Linked DNA regions of Homo sapiens: all the other regions are linked to region 2. Evidence: promoter capture Hi-C in 16 types of primary human blood cells and fetal thymus (Javierre and others, 2016). All regions are on one chromosome and are shown on one strand. Each heading gives the region's core, a stretch centred on a gene start or on the middle of the fragment in contact. The rest is flanking DNA. Distances are from core to core; before and after follow the strand shown. Region 1 overlaps ATP2C1 (ATPase secretory pathway Ca2+ transporting 1). Region 2 holds the start of PIK3R4 (phosphoinositide-3-kinase regulatory subunit 4). Region 3 overlaps ATP2C1 (ATPase secretory pathway Ca2+ transporting 1). Region 4 overlaps ATP2C1 (ATPase secretory pathway Ca2+ transporting 1).

Region 1 (2,700 bases), core at 81-2,580, 220 kb after region 2:
AGATTAATAATTGTGATGAGAATTAGAATCTATATTTCTTTACTAAATGTCCTTTTTAAAGACAAATTTTAATGCTTTTCTAGGTGAACACTTTTAACAGTGTCATTATAAATAAAATGAACAGAACTCATTATAGTTTTTGGGTTTTATAGGTCTTGTCACCACCAAGTGTTTGTAGTGTTTGTATTATTGATCCCACTTTGTGATCTTTAGGTTACTGGAGTTGGCTATAATCAATTTGGGGAAGTGATTGTTGATGGTGATGTTGTTCATGGATTCTATAACCCAGCTGTTAGCAGAATTGTTGAGGTAAATATTTTTTTTTCCAAGATGGTGACTTTCTTCATAATAACTTAAGACACAGTGATAGGTTCATAGTTTATGTGTATTTTTCTTAGGCGGGCTGTGTGTGCAATGATGCTGTAATTAGAAACAATACTCTAATGGGGAAGCCAACAGAAGGGGCCTTAATTGCTCTTGCAATGAAGGTACGTACCTAAATTTCTCTTCTTTGACATTTGAGACACTGCCCTCACAACAGAATGCAGTGTCATCAATTTCAGTATTACTGGTTTTTAGGTATTGAGTGAAAAAAACTCATACTATTTCATTGTTTTTACTATCTTTTAGGTATCAGTTTTATTCCTATAAATGTAAAGTATAGACTTTTTTCAGTATAACTTTATTGTTCACATGCAAGTTACAAACTAATGAGCAGTCATTGATTTCTTGTGAAGAAATGTTCCTGTCTTCCACAATGTTGAGATCTACATGTGAAATACTTTATAAATGTGTGTAATTGCTGATAAATACTAACTTTTGAATGAATAAAAGGCAACATTCTTTAGTATTTCTATGTAAAGATAATAACACAGTCATGAGAAAATAGCTTTGTTTTCCCAGTCTTTCCTTTCTCTCCTTTGTTAATTTCTCAAAATGATTGTGAAGTTATAATTTGTTTTGGGGAGAAGAAGTCTCAGTTAACTTTTCATCTGTCCCAATCCGTCTCCTTATCCCCTAAGTCCTATATTTGATTCAGTGAGAAACCTAGTAAGTCCAGCCTGTCACTCATAACAAAAATAACTATTCCTACCTTTAAGAGTATTCAGAGAAAATTTTGATACTTGTATAAAGCAAGAGGCTTCTAAATGAGGTTGCTTGAAATGAGAGACAGTACAGAATTACAGGTTATTATAACATATTTAATGAAATAAAATTGATAGTTTTAGAATATATAGTTTCCTTGGCAGAAAAGCACATTTCTGTATCATTTGGTCTCCTTACAACTAAAACAGCATAGTACTCAAAACATGAATCCGTTATCAAGTATTTCCTGTGTTATGCTTATAAAGATATTAGTTTCTTTGAGGGATAAAGAATATGAAACTATCTTTTTATGGGCAGAGACCTCACATTTTAGGTAGGGAATTTATATTGACATTCTTGAGACAAAAGGCAGTCCAAGACAGCAGACACTGAAATCTTAAACACTGAGTCACATATAAGATAAGAACAATGCAAATTCAGAGCTGGGATATGAGGGCTTTGAAGGATAGGAAGGGTTTAGATGAGATAAGCTAGGGAATGAACTAAAGTAGAAGTAGAGAGGAATAAAAGAGCATAGAGTTGGTTGTGGCTAATGAGTTGGCCAAACTGGATGAAATGAAACGTATTTGCACGACCAGGAGGATTTTTATAGACGCTGTATGTGGTGGGTTTCTGGAGAACCTTTAAGGCCAAGAAGAGCCTGAACATGTTTCAGTAGAAAGTAGAAAGCAATACATGGTAGAATTTTGAGTAGTTTAAACATTTTTGATATTTGGAAGATATTTTTTGATATTTTTGATATTTAGATATTTGATATTGATGCAAACGCTATTAGGAGGGAAAACAACAACATGACTGGTAGTATTCAGGATATAAAGTGGCAGAGGGTAAGGGACTAGGATGATAACAGGTGAGCCATTTGAGTCCCTAAGAAGTGAGAGATTTAATCTAAAACTTCTATTGATCATAAAAATACATGCTCAGAATTGGTTGGGTACTTTTATTTATTTATATCCTGCTTCCTTTCAGAATTTGAGTGGGTAGAGGGATTAATACAGTGTGTATGGGAGGTTTAGTCAGCGTACAATCCAGAAAACCTGCCTTAGACTATATCTACATACCTGGGCTTTCATGTTGAAAATGTATGCTGATGTGTAGGGAAGTACAGTATATATAGATGGAGCATTTACTATTTCACTATTAACTGAAAAATAATCCAGCCAACCTAGTTACAAGTGGTGACCCTTGTTCTTTGTTAAAGGAAAAAATAATCACATATAGGTGAGAATTAACTTTCTCTTTGTGCCATATAGATGGGTCTTGATGGACTTCAACAAGACTACATCAGAAAAGCTGAATACCCTTTTAGCTCTGAGCAAAAGTGGATGGCTGTTAAGTGTGTACACCGAACACAGCAGGTATCCATCTGTTTAAAGAATACTTATTTCCTGTTTAGCTTAGATGACTATTTTTTCATTTACTGTCCACCTTTGGGTTTAGTCATTGTACATAATAAAGACTTGTTGCTTTAAAGTACATGTAATTAATAGTACACTCATCTCTTAATTGTTTGTGTTCTCTTTGATAGTCTTTCCTTATAGAATCCATGCATAGATATATTCATGGAGTTGCTGCTGTGTGAGCAAACAGCTT
Region 2 (2,700 bases), core at 155-2,654:
ACACACATTTATCTAAAAAGACCATGTTATTTTCTCCAAGAAGACCTTGTTATTTTACCTAAAAATACCCTGCTATTGCGCATCGCCATTTCCAGGAGCTGAACTATATTTAGATAGGCCTCTTCAACTTTAAGCCAAAAATGTTAGTTTGTGTTATTTTCTCATATTTAAATTTAAAATATTAATGAGCCTTTACTATGTGTTCCGTGCTGTGCTTGGGGCTATGAGAATTACAAAGTTACCATATGACATAGTTCTTGTCCAAGAATCTGTAGTTTCTTGGAAATAAGAAAGAGACACATTAAAAGCTTAAAACTGGCCGGGCGCGGTGGCTCACGCCTGTAATCCCAGCACTTCGGGAGGCCGAGGCGGGAGGATCACGAGGTCAGGAGCTCAAGACGGGGCTGGCCAACATGGTTAAAATCCCGTCTCTACTAAAAATACAAAAATTAGCCGGGCGTGGTAGTGGGTGCCTGTAATCCCAGCTACTCGTGAGGCTGACGCAGAATTGCTTGAACCCAGGACGCAGAGGTTGCAGTGAGTGGAGATCCCGCCACCGCACTCCAGCCTGGGTGACAGAGCGAGACTCCGTCCGTCTCAAAAAATAAAAAAAAAAAAAGAAAAACTGAAAACTGAAAAGGTCAAACTAAGATCTAAAAATTCAGTTAACTCCTGGACACTTCCTGCCTAATTCCAGTGTGCCCTCTCACCCAGCTAAAAGAAGGTGCAAACTTCGCTGGTCTGCAACAAGAAACCTTGCCACAGATGTTAAAGAAAAGCAGACCAAAGTATACACTAGCTAAACGTACCCCAGGGTTCTGCTAACTCAGGTTTTGCAGGAAATAAATGCCACACATATACACACACGACCTTGAGCACACATAAACATTTACCCTAGGCCTCGGGAAAGTGTCAAAATCGTTCAGAGGCTCACAACGAGGTCATAGTAGACTACTTCGGGGACGGGACGGGAAAACGCGTCAGCAGCGGGGAAGTTGTTTCTACGAAGGGTCTTTCTTCATAGACAGGAGATGGGCTGTTGGTGGAGGGGCGCAGAAAAGTCCCGATCTTCAGGAACCCCGGTGGTCCTGGGAGGAGAACTGGGAAAGCTCTCGGGGTCTCAGCAGAGAGAAGAAGCCACGCTAAAGAGTCTCCACAAGTACCCCGGGATTTGACCCCTCCAGCCCCCTAACCTGCCCTGGGGGACATGCGTTCCCGGGCCTCGTCTTCCTCTAGCGCGGATCGCTACACCCGTCCGAGCCCTCCTCGAGGGCCTCACCACCGGGCGGGGGGAGATGGAACCCGGGAGAGAAGTGCAGACCGCCAGTCCCAAGAAAACACTACACTTCAGCTGCTGCAGCCCCAGCAAACGCCGAACTCCCGGGAAAGCAACCGGTCTGACCTCACTTCCTGTCGCCGAGCGGAAGTGACGAAAAAGAGTGAGCCTTGAGGAATTGCCAGGGTAGGAAACCGGTTGCTAGGAAACTAGGGAAGGCGTGGTCTTACTTTGGGCGAGTCTACAGGGAGAAAATGATGCTCTGACAAAGATCTATTCCCCTTCCTGCTCTTCTACCTTTCATTCACGAACGCTGAGGTTTCTGACATCCCCTAGAATCTGCTCAGACACGCCTTCACTCCCAGGACAGCAGAACAGAGTTAAGAGAACTCAAGAATATTTAGGAAAACTAATATATCCCAAGCTGGATTTTTAGAGTTCTGGTGAGATATAACTTACATACCATAAAGTTCACCTGCTTAAAATGTACAAAGCAGTAGTTTTTAATACATCTATCGAGTTGTGCAATCATCCCTATAATCTGATTTTAATTTTTTTTTTTTTTTTTTTTTTTTTTTTTTTTTTTTTTTTTTTTTTTGAGGCTGAGTCTCGTTCTGTCGCCCAGGCTGGAGTGCAGTGGAGCGATCTCGGCTTACTGCAACCTCCACCTCCCGGGTTCAAGCGATTCTCCTGCCTCAGCCTCCCGAGTAGCTGAGACTACAGGCGCCCGCCACCACGCCCGGCTAATTTTTTTGTATTTTTAGTAGAGGCGGGGTTTCACCGTGTTAGCCAGGTTGGTCTCGATCTCCTGACCTCGTGATCCGCCTGCCTCAGCCTCCCAAAGTGTTGGGATTACAGGCGTGAGCCGCCGCGCCCGGCCTTTTTTTTTTTCTTTTGGAGACAGTCTGGCTCTGTCACCCAGGCTGGAATGCAGTGGTGCCATCTCGGCTTACTGCAAACTCCACCTCCCGGGTTCAAGCGATTCTCATGCCTCTGCCTCCAGAGTAGCTGGGACCACAGGCACGTGCCACCACGCCCAGCTAGGTTTTTGTTTTTTTTTTTTTTGAGACGGAGTCTCGCTCTTGTCGCCCAGGCTGGAGTGCAGTGGCGCGATCTCGGCTCACTGCAAGCTCCGCCTCCCGGGTTCACGCCATTCTTCTGCCTCAGCCTCCCGAGTAGCTAGGACTATAGGCGCCCGCCACCGCGCCGGGCTAATTTTTTGTATTTTTTTTTTAGTAGAGACGGGGTTTCGCCGTGGTCTCGATCTCCTGACCTCGTGATCCACCCGGCCTCTCAAAGTGCTGGGATTACAGGCGTGAGCCACCGCGCCCGGCCGCTAGTTTTTGTATTGTTTGTAGAGATGGGGTTTCACCATGTTGGCCAGGATGGTCTGGATCTCCTGACCTCAAGTGATCCGCCGCCTC
Region 3 (2,700 bases), core at 33-2,532, 250 kb after region 2:
CATAACTTGTAAATATTGTTGGAGAGAGTGACATGGTAGTGAGGCAGAAGTTAAAATCATTGTGAAATGAGGGGCTGTGAACTCCGGAGCAGTGAATGCTTACAGTTAGTGAGTTACAGTCTCATCTGACATTCAGAACTGAGGTTTTATGAAGGGAGAATAGCGGATACCGTGTTCCACCTGTAGGCTCCCCCAGTGGTACTATTTGAGGAGGTTATAGGGATGGTAGTGTTTTGTGGAAACACTAGGTTAGAGCAAAGTACTATTTGAGGAGGTTATAGGGATGGTAGTGTTTTGTGGAAACACTAGGTTAGAGCAAAGTGAAAAAGAGTAAAAAATAGAGGAGATTTGTTGGAACACAGTGAAACGATTTTAGATCAGGAGATGGGGTCAGAAAAAAGGATTAAATATTTATTTTGGAGAGATAAAAATCATATAAGCAATTTAGAAGTACAGTGGAAGAGAGGCTAATGAGTTAACCTGAGTAAAAGGGAATGAGCAGACACTTGACACTGTAAAAAATGGCTCTACAGACACTGAGAAGCAGCTGTTCTTTATTGCTCCTGAAGACAGAACAAAGGGAAAAGGCTATTTTAGTTGTATGCGAGTGTCATAGGAAACAGACGCAAGAGAATTTTTCCTTTTTTTGTCTCTGGAACATTTCAAGAATAAGGCTGTTTTCTTTCCAGAGTTTACACATAATGATATAAATTGGATGACTTGTTTAGATTGTGTATTTCCTGTGGTACCTTTGGTAAAGATTGAAATGACCATGTCAGATTAATGTCTTAACAAACATATGTCATATTGCTTAAGCTTGATCTCAGTGGCAAATTAAATACAGCTTAAATTGATGAGTTTTTCATCATTAGTTATGAATGCATGGGTTATTCTGTAGAAATCTTAATATTGAAGATTTTTAGTGTATCTTGTATTTTAACAGGTTGCAGTATTTTACAGAGCTAGCCCAAGGCACAAGATGAAAATTATTAAGGTGAGTGTGTAAGAATCAGATTGTTTTATTTCTGTATACAAAATGCTGCTACTTTACTTTTGTTATGTTTGCATTACAGGGAGTAGAGCATCAAGGTCAGAAATACTGTGAAGCAAAACAGTTTTTTTTTTTTGTAAGAGCTTGACATAGAAACACTAATAGAGAATTTAGTTGGCATAAGATGTAGAAGAAAACTTGAATGAAGTATCTGCAAATACAGCCTTCTTTAAACAGTTAGACAGTATAAAACAATGTTCTAACTGGGGTCCATAGCCGAGTCATCCCAGCGTAAATAGCAGTAATTAGTTAGAAACTAAATAAATACAGCAAGGAAATAGTGTTGTGACAGTGTGAACAGTGCTTAAAAGGCTATGATTATTTATATTAATTAGTCAAATGTATTTAAACCAACTGATAGAGTATCCAGTAGTTAATGGTCTTAAGTTATGATAGCCAGCCATTGTGTAGTTCAGAGTTTCTCAACCTTGGCACCATTGACATTTTGGACTGGATAATTCCTTGTTGTGAAGGGCTGCCCCATATGTTATTGAATGTTTAGCAGCATTCTTGGCCCCTTCCCACTAGGTGCCAGTAACATCCCCCAAATCCTGATAGTCCAAAACATCTCCACACATTGTCAGATGTCCCTTGGGAGACACAATTGCCCCTGGTTGAGAATCATTGTATAGTTGTTTGAAGAACAGAATTTAGAGATACAGTTCTCACAGATGGGAATATTAGTAGCAACTTTTTCTAAGCTTTATCTTACTGAGATCTCCATTTGTTGAAGTTCATTGAACAATGGGTGGTCTATATTATTTCTAATCTTAATTATGTGAAAAAAATAGGGAGGATTTGTTTATCGCTTTGTATGGAAGCAACATTTTTATCAAAATTCCTTCCTCTCCCCTGTCCTCTGCTCCACTCTAGTCGCTACAGAAGAACGGTTCAGTTGTAGCCATGACAGGAGATGGAGTAAATGATGCAGTTGCTCTGAAGGCTGCAGACATTGGAGTTGCGATGGGCCAGACTGGTACAGATGTTTGCAAAGAGGCAGCAGACATGATCCTAGTGGATGATGATTTTCAAACCATAATGTAAGCTTTGTTTCAGTGAATGCCTATCAGAGAATCTTCCCCTATCCTTTCCTGTCCCCCACCCCTAGAGAATTCAACTGGAAAAGAATTAGTATTTAAACATTAGGTAAACTAAACCACTTTTCTAGGGTAATTATCCTATTTTATGGTATGAAGAAGATGATTTGTGTGGCTGGAACAGGCATAGTAAATGGCAGGACCCTCATTTAAGAAGTATTTGCCAAGTGCCAGCCACATTTCACCTTTTTCTGGGCACTAATATGATGGTATAGTAATGGCCTTTATTTTAGTTAAATTCAGGTAGTTAGAAATATGCATATGTATGGCTCTTTTTTTGGCTTTATAATAAATATTGAAAATTATGAAGTTTACATCCATACCTGTTTTTTATATCAGTAATTTATTCATCTTGCCCTCATTTAATGTTATAATTTATTAAATTTAAATAGCTCTATTTGTGTCAGCCACAGTTTCCAGTTGATTTAAGACTCCAGTGTAATACATGGTGGTGTCAGTTTCACAGTGTTCAGGTGGGGATCATGTGAATCCCATTTATTTATTTATTTATTTTTTTGGTAGCTACCTGTTGGATGACCTGAGTTTAGTGAT
Region 4 (2,817 bases), core at 201-2,700, 190 kb after region 2:
TACAGACAACTCTTCAGGGAAGCTTGTGGTGTGGGACTAAGGAACTGCTTTGATTTAGGTAGTGAGATGAAGAAAATCTAGTTTTTTATTTGATAATGTTAAGGATAACTGAAGCAGATGGAAACAAAAAGCATAGTAATAGAAATAAAATCCAGCAGTAAACTTTTTTATTTTTTCAATTAAAAAATTGGACCAGAGTTTATAGTTTCATAACACTGTTATGTTTTAATGCCTACTAGAGCTAAGTCTAGATGAAACAAAAAAGTATAGAATTAAAAGGTCGATCTGTGATGTACCATTTGAAGAAAATTCCACAGGTTTCTGTGACTGATTCCCTTAGCCAAATGCTACACTTGTTTGCTGAATTTATCACTTAACCTTATTTTATTTGAGTCTGTTTTGAGGAATTAAAATGGTTCTACTCATTGTTGGCATGACCTCCTCTCCCCTCCCTTTAAAACAATTTCTCATTCCTCCACAAAAGGGGTGTTGTGATCTGAATCAAAGTAATTCAAACAGTAAATAAAACATATGTAAAGTAGCCCCTTTTAAAAATTACTATGAATAATGTGGAGATACTGTCAAGATTTCTATTAATAAGTACAGACAAATAAAAATGTAGGCTTAGTTTTATGTTTATTTAAATATCTGAAACTTCTGTAGATTTTAGAACAGTGTTTCACAATATCAGCAGATTTCCTTTTTAGCTAGAACATGGTTAACAAGAATAGAATTATTCTAGCTTAGAGAAAAATGTAATATTGTTGCATAAGCCTGAAGTTCGTGCTGTTTTGAATCTGAAGCCTATACTTTGAATAACTATGGTTGTTCTTACATCTACGATTTATTACGTGGGTATTTCTTGTCACTATCCCAGCCTCTTAAGGTAATCTCTAACCTAGTTGTTATTAGTTCTGTAGTAACCCAGTGTAGAAAGCCAGTTGGAATCAGATCATTTGCAGTAGGTTTGTGAGCTCCATTAGTAGACTATCAGGGTTCCGCTTTTAGGGGAATCTTCTTGCTTAGACAAATGTTGCCCATGGTCAGGTGGAGCTGGTTAGTCTAGCATAGGTCATGTCAGGCTAACCATTATTCAAGGCAGCTATTCATTCAGCCAAGTGAGTGATATGACCCACTGGACCACTAACTGGACCTTCTTGCGTCTTTAAGAATGTGTCAGATATGTGGAGTGCCCTACTTCAGAAGGATTCCTGCAAATAGTATCACTATGTATGGAAGACCTTAGTACCTTGTTCTCTTTGATCACTAGAAAGCCCATGTTTTCAAAAAACACCACAAAATTGTGATTTTAACATAAGTCAATATGGAATTTTACACAAGATAGTGTTGTTATACACATTAAATGCTATGGCTGAGACTATTAAATATGTTTATGATAGGTACATTTGATAGAAATCTCACAAAAGGATGAAAACTTTATAAAAAGCCTAGTTTCAAATTGCTAGGTCTGATTCTTACACACATGTGACCCATCACCAAATATGCCTGTGAAACCAACAAAATAGTCTATAAACAAGTAAAAATCCTCTCCAAAAAGATCCTATTTACTGTCAGTTGAACTTATCATAATGCTTTAATCAAAAAGCTCTTTATCAAAAATGTATAAAAAATTCTTAATACTTTATCATTATTTGTTATTTGTGCTATATTACTTGTGTCTTAAGAGGGCTTTTTATATTCCTTTTTATATTTATGTCCTGCCTTTTTTCCGTGTGTCTTTGCAATCCCCATTCCCCACACCACTGTACTTCTTCCCAGCCATAAAAATAGCTAATTGTTTTATATAGTCGTAATGAAGTCACCTTACAATAAATTTGAAAAATGACTTTTAGGCATTTATTAGGTTTTAGGTGGTATGTTTAATGATCATTTTGATATAGAGGTATCTTTATAATTGTAGGGAGTAGAGGCTAAGAAACCAGAAGACATAAGTAAAGATTGGGCAGCATCTATGTCATTTATTACTGGGATCTAGGATTGATGGGTATTTTCTAGCATATTACAGAATTTTTGGGTAAACTTCCAAATTCCTTAATATCCTTCATGTGTTTGGGGTGTTGTCTTATGATTTTTACATTTGTAGATTTTCCTTATATTTGTCACTCTAAGATTAAGTAGAGACTGATTGTGTTCTAAGTTATTCTTACATAGCCTTGTGTTTTCTATTTGAAGTTTGTGATGGATAGGACATTTTGACTAGTACTAGCACTGCAGTCATTTCAAAACATTCCCAACCCTTCTACCTCCACTATTTGCCTCTCCCTCTTTTGACCTTAGATTAGAAGATTCTTTTGCTTACTACAGACATGAGGCAAAAATAGCAGTGATGTGTGATGCAAGACTGCTCATGGAAATGTGGACTAAGTAGTATTGTGAGTTGAAGGATGTTTCTGACTGACCCTCAGCTATTTGTTATCTGGATGGAAGAAGGCTAGAAATCACATTGTTAGAACTCCTGAGAATTTTCCTTTTTGGATACACAGGTTGATGGGAACTGGGTCTGTCAGTATAGAGCCAGCCACATCTTACTCCTTGTTTATCCCATGTTTGTTCTAATGGTTTACTTTGTAAACCATTGCTGTTAGCATGGGCTTAAATTCCTAAAGCAGATGTTGTTTACGGTTAATTATCTTTGACTTCTGTGGTCATTAGACACTTAACATAAGATTATCTAAATTTTAAGGCTCAATGACTTAAAACTTTTAATGACTCAAATTATGTACTCTTTGGACATACTAGTCAGTTTTCATTTTTATTCTAAATAACCTTAGGTTTGTACATTGAATATTAAAATGT

Evidence for each region. Contacts are between HindIII fragments. The CHiCAGO score rates a contact against its expected background, and 5 or more counts as called.
Region 1: a fragment that was not itself captured here is called in contact with the fragment with the promoter of PIK3R4 in region 2 in 1 of 17 cell types (M1 macrophages); the score reaches 6.3 in M1 macrophages.
Region 3: a contact is called between a fragment that was not itself captured here and the fragment with the promoter of PIK3R4 in region 2, in 1 of 17 cell types (erythroblasts). The highest score is 6.2, in erythroblasts.
Region 4: a fragment that was not itself captured here is called in contact with the fragment with the promoter of PIK3R4 in region 2 in 3 of 17 cell types (erythroblasts, M1 macrophages and megakaryocytes); the score reaches 5.6 in erythroblasts.

Annotation. Positions count from the first base shown.
Region 1 is chr3:130,966,932-130,969,631 of GRCh38, forward strand. It overlaps ATP2C1 (ATPase secretory pathway Ca2+ transporting 1), which reads left to right. Exons shown (of 28, transcript NM_001378687.1): 15 at 214-309; 16 at 399-488; 17 at 2,361-2,465. Among named protein-coding and RNA genes, the nearest start is that of ASTE1, 59 kb to the right of the region's middle. The HindIII fragment of the contact is 2,803 bases long and covers 1-2,700 here.
Region 2 is chr3:130,745,425-130,748,124 of GRCh38, forward strand. It overlaps PIK3R4 (phosphoinositide-3-kinase regulatory subunit 4), which reads right to left and starts at 1,405. Exons shown (of 20, transcript NM_014602.3): 1 at 894-1,405. RefSeq lists an enhancer at 1,086-1,145 and a silencer at 2,380-2,429. The HindIII fragment of the contact is 4,673 bases long and covers 307-2,700 here.
Region 3 is chr3:130,992,008-130,994,707 of GRCh38, forward strand. It overlaps ATP2C1 (ATPase secretory pathway Ca2+ transporting 1), which reads left to right. Exons shown (of 28, transcript NM_001378687.1): 21 at 944-994; 22 at 1,925-2,091. Among named protein-coding and RNA genes, the nearest start is that of ASTE1, 33 kb to the right of the region's middle. The HindIII fragment of the contact is 936 bases long and covers 815-1,750 here.
Region 4 is chr3:130,937,605-130,940,421 of GRCh38, forward strand. All of the region lies in intron 6 of ATP2C1 (ATPase secretory pathway Ca2+ transporting 1), which reads left to right. Among named protein-coding and RNA genes, the nearest start is that of ATP2C1, 45 kb to the left of the region's middle. The HindIII fragment of the contact is 2,860 bases long and covers 21-2,817 here.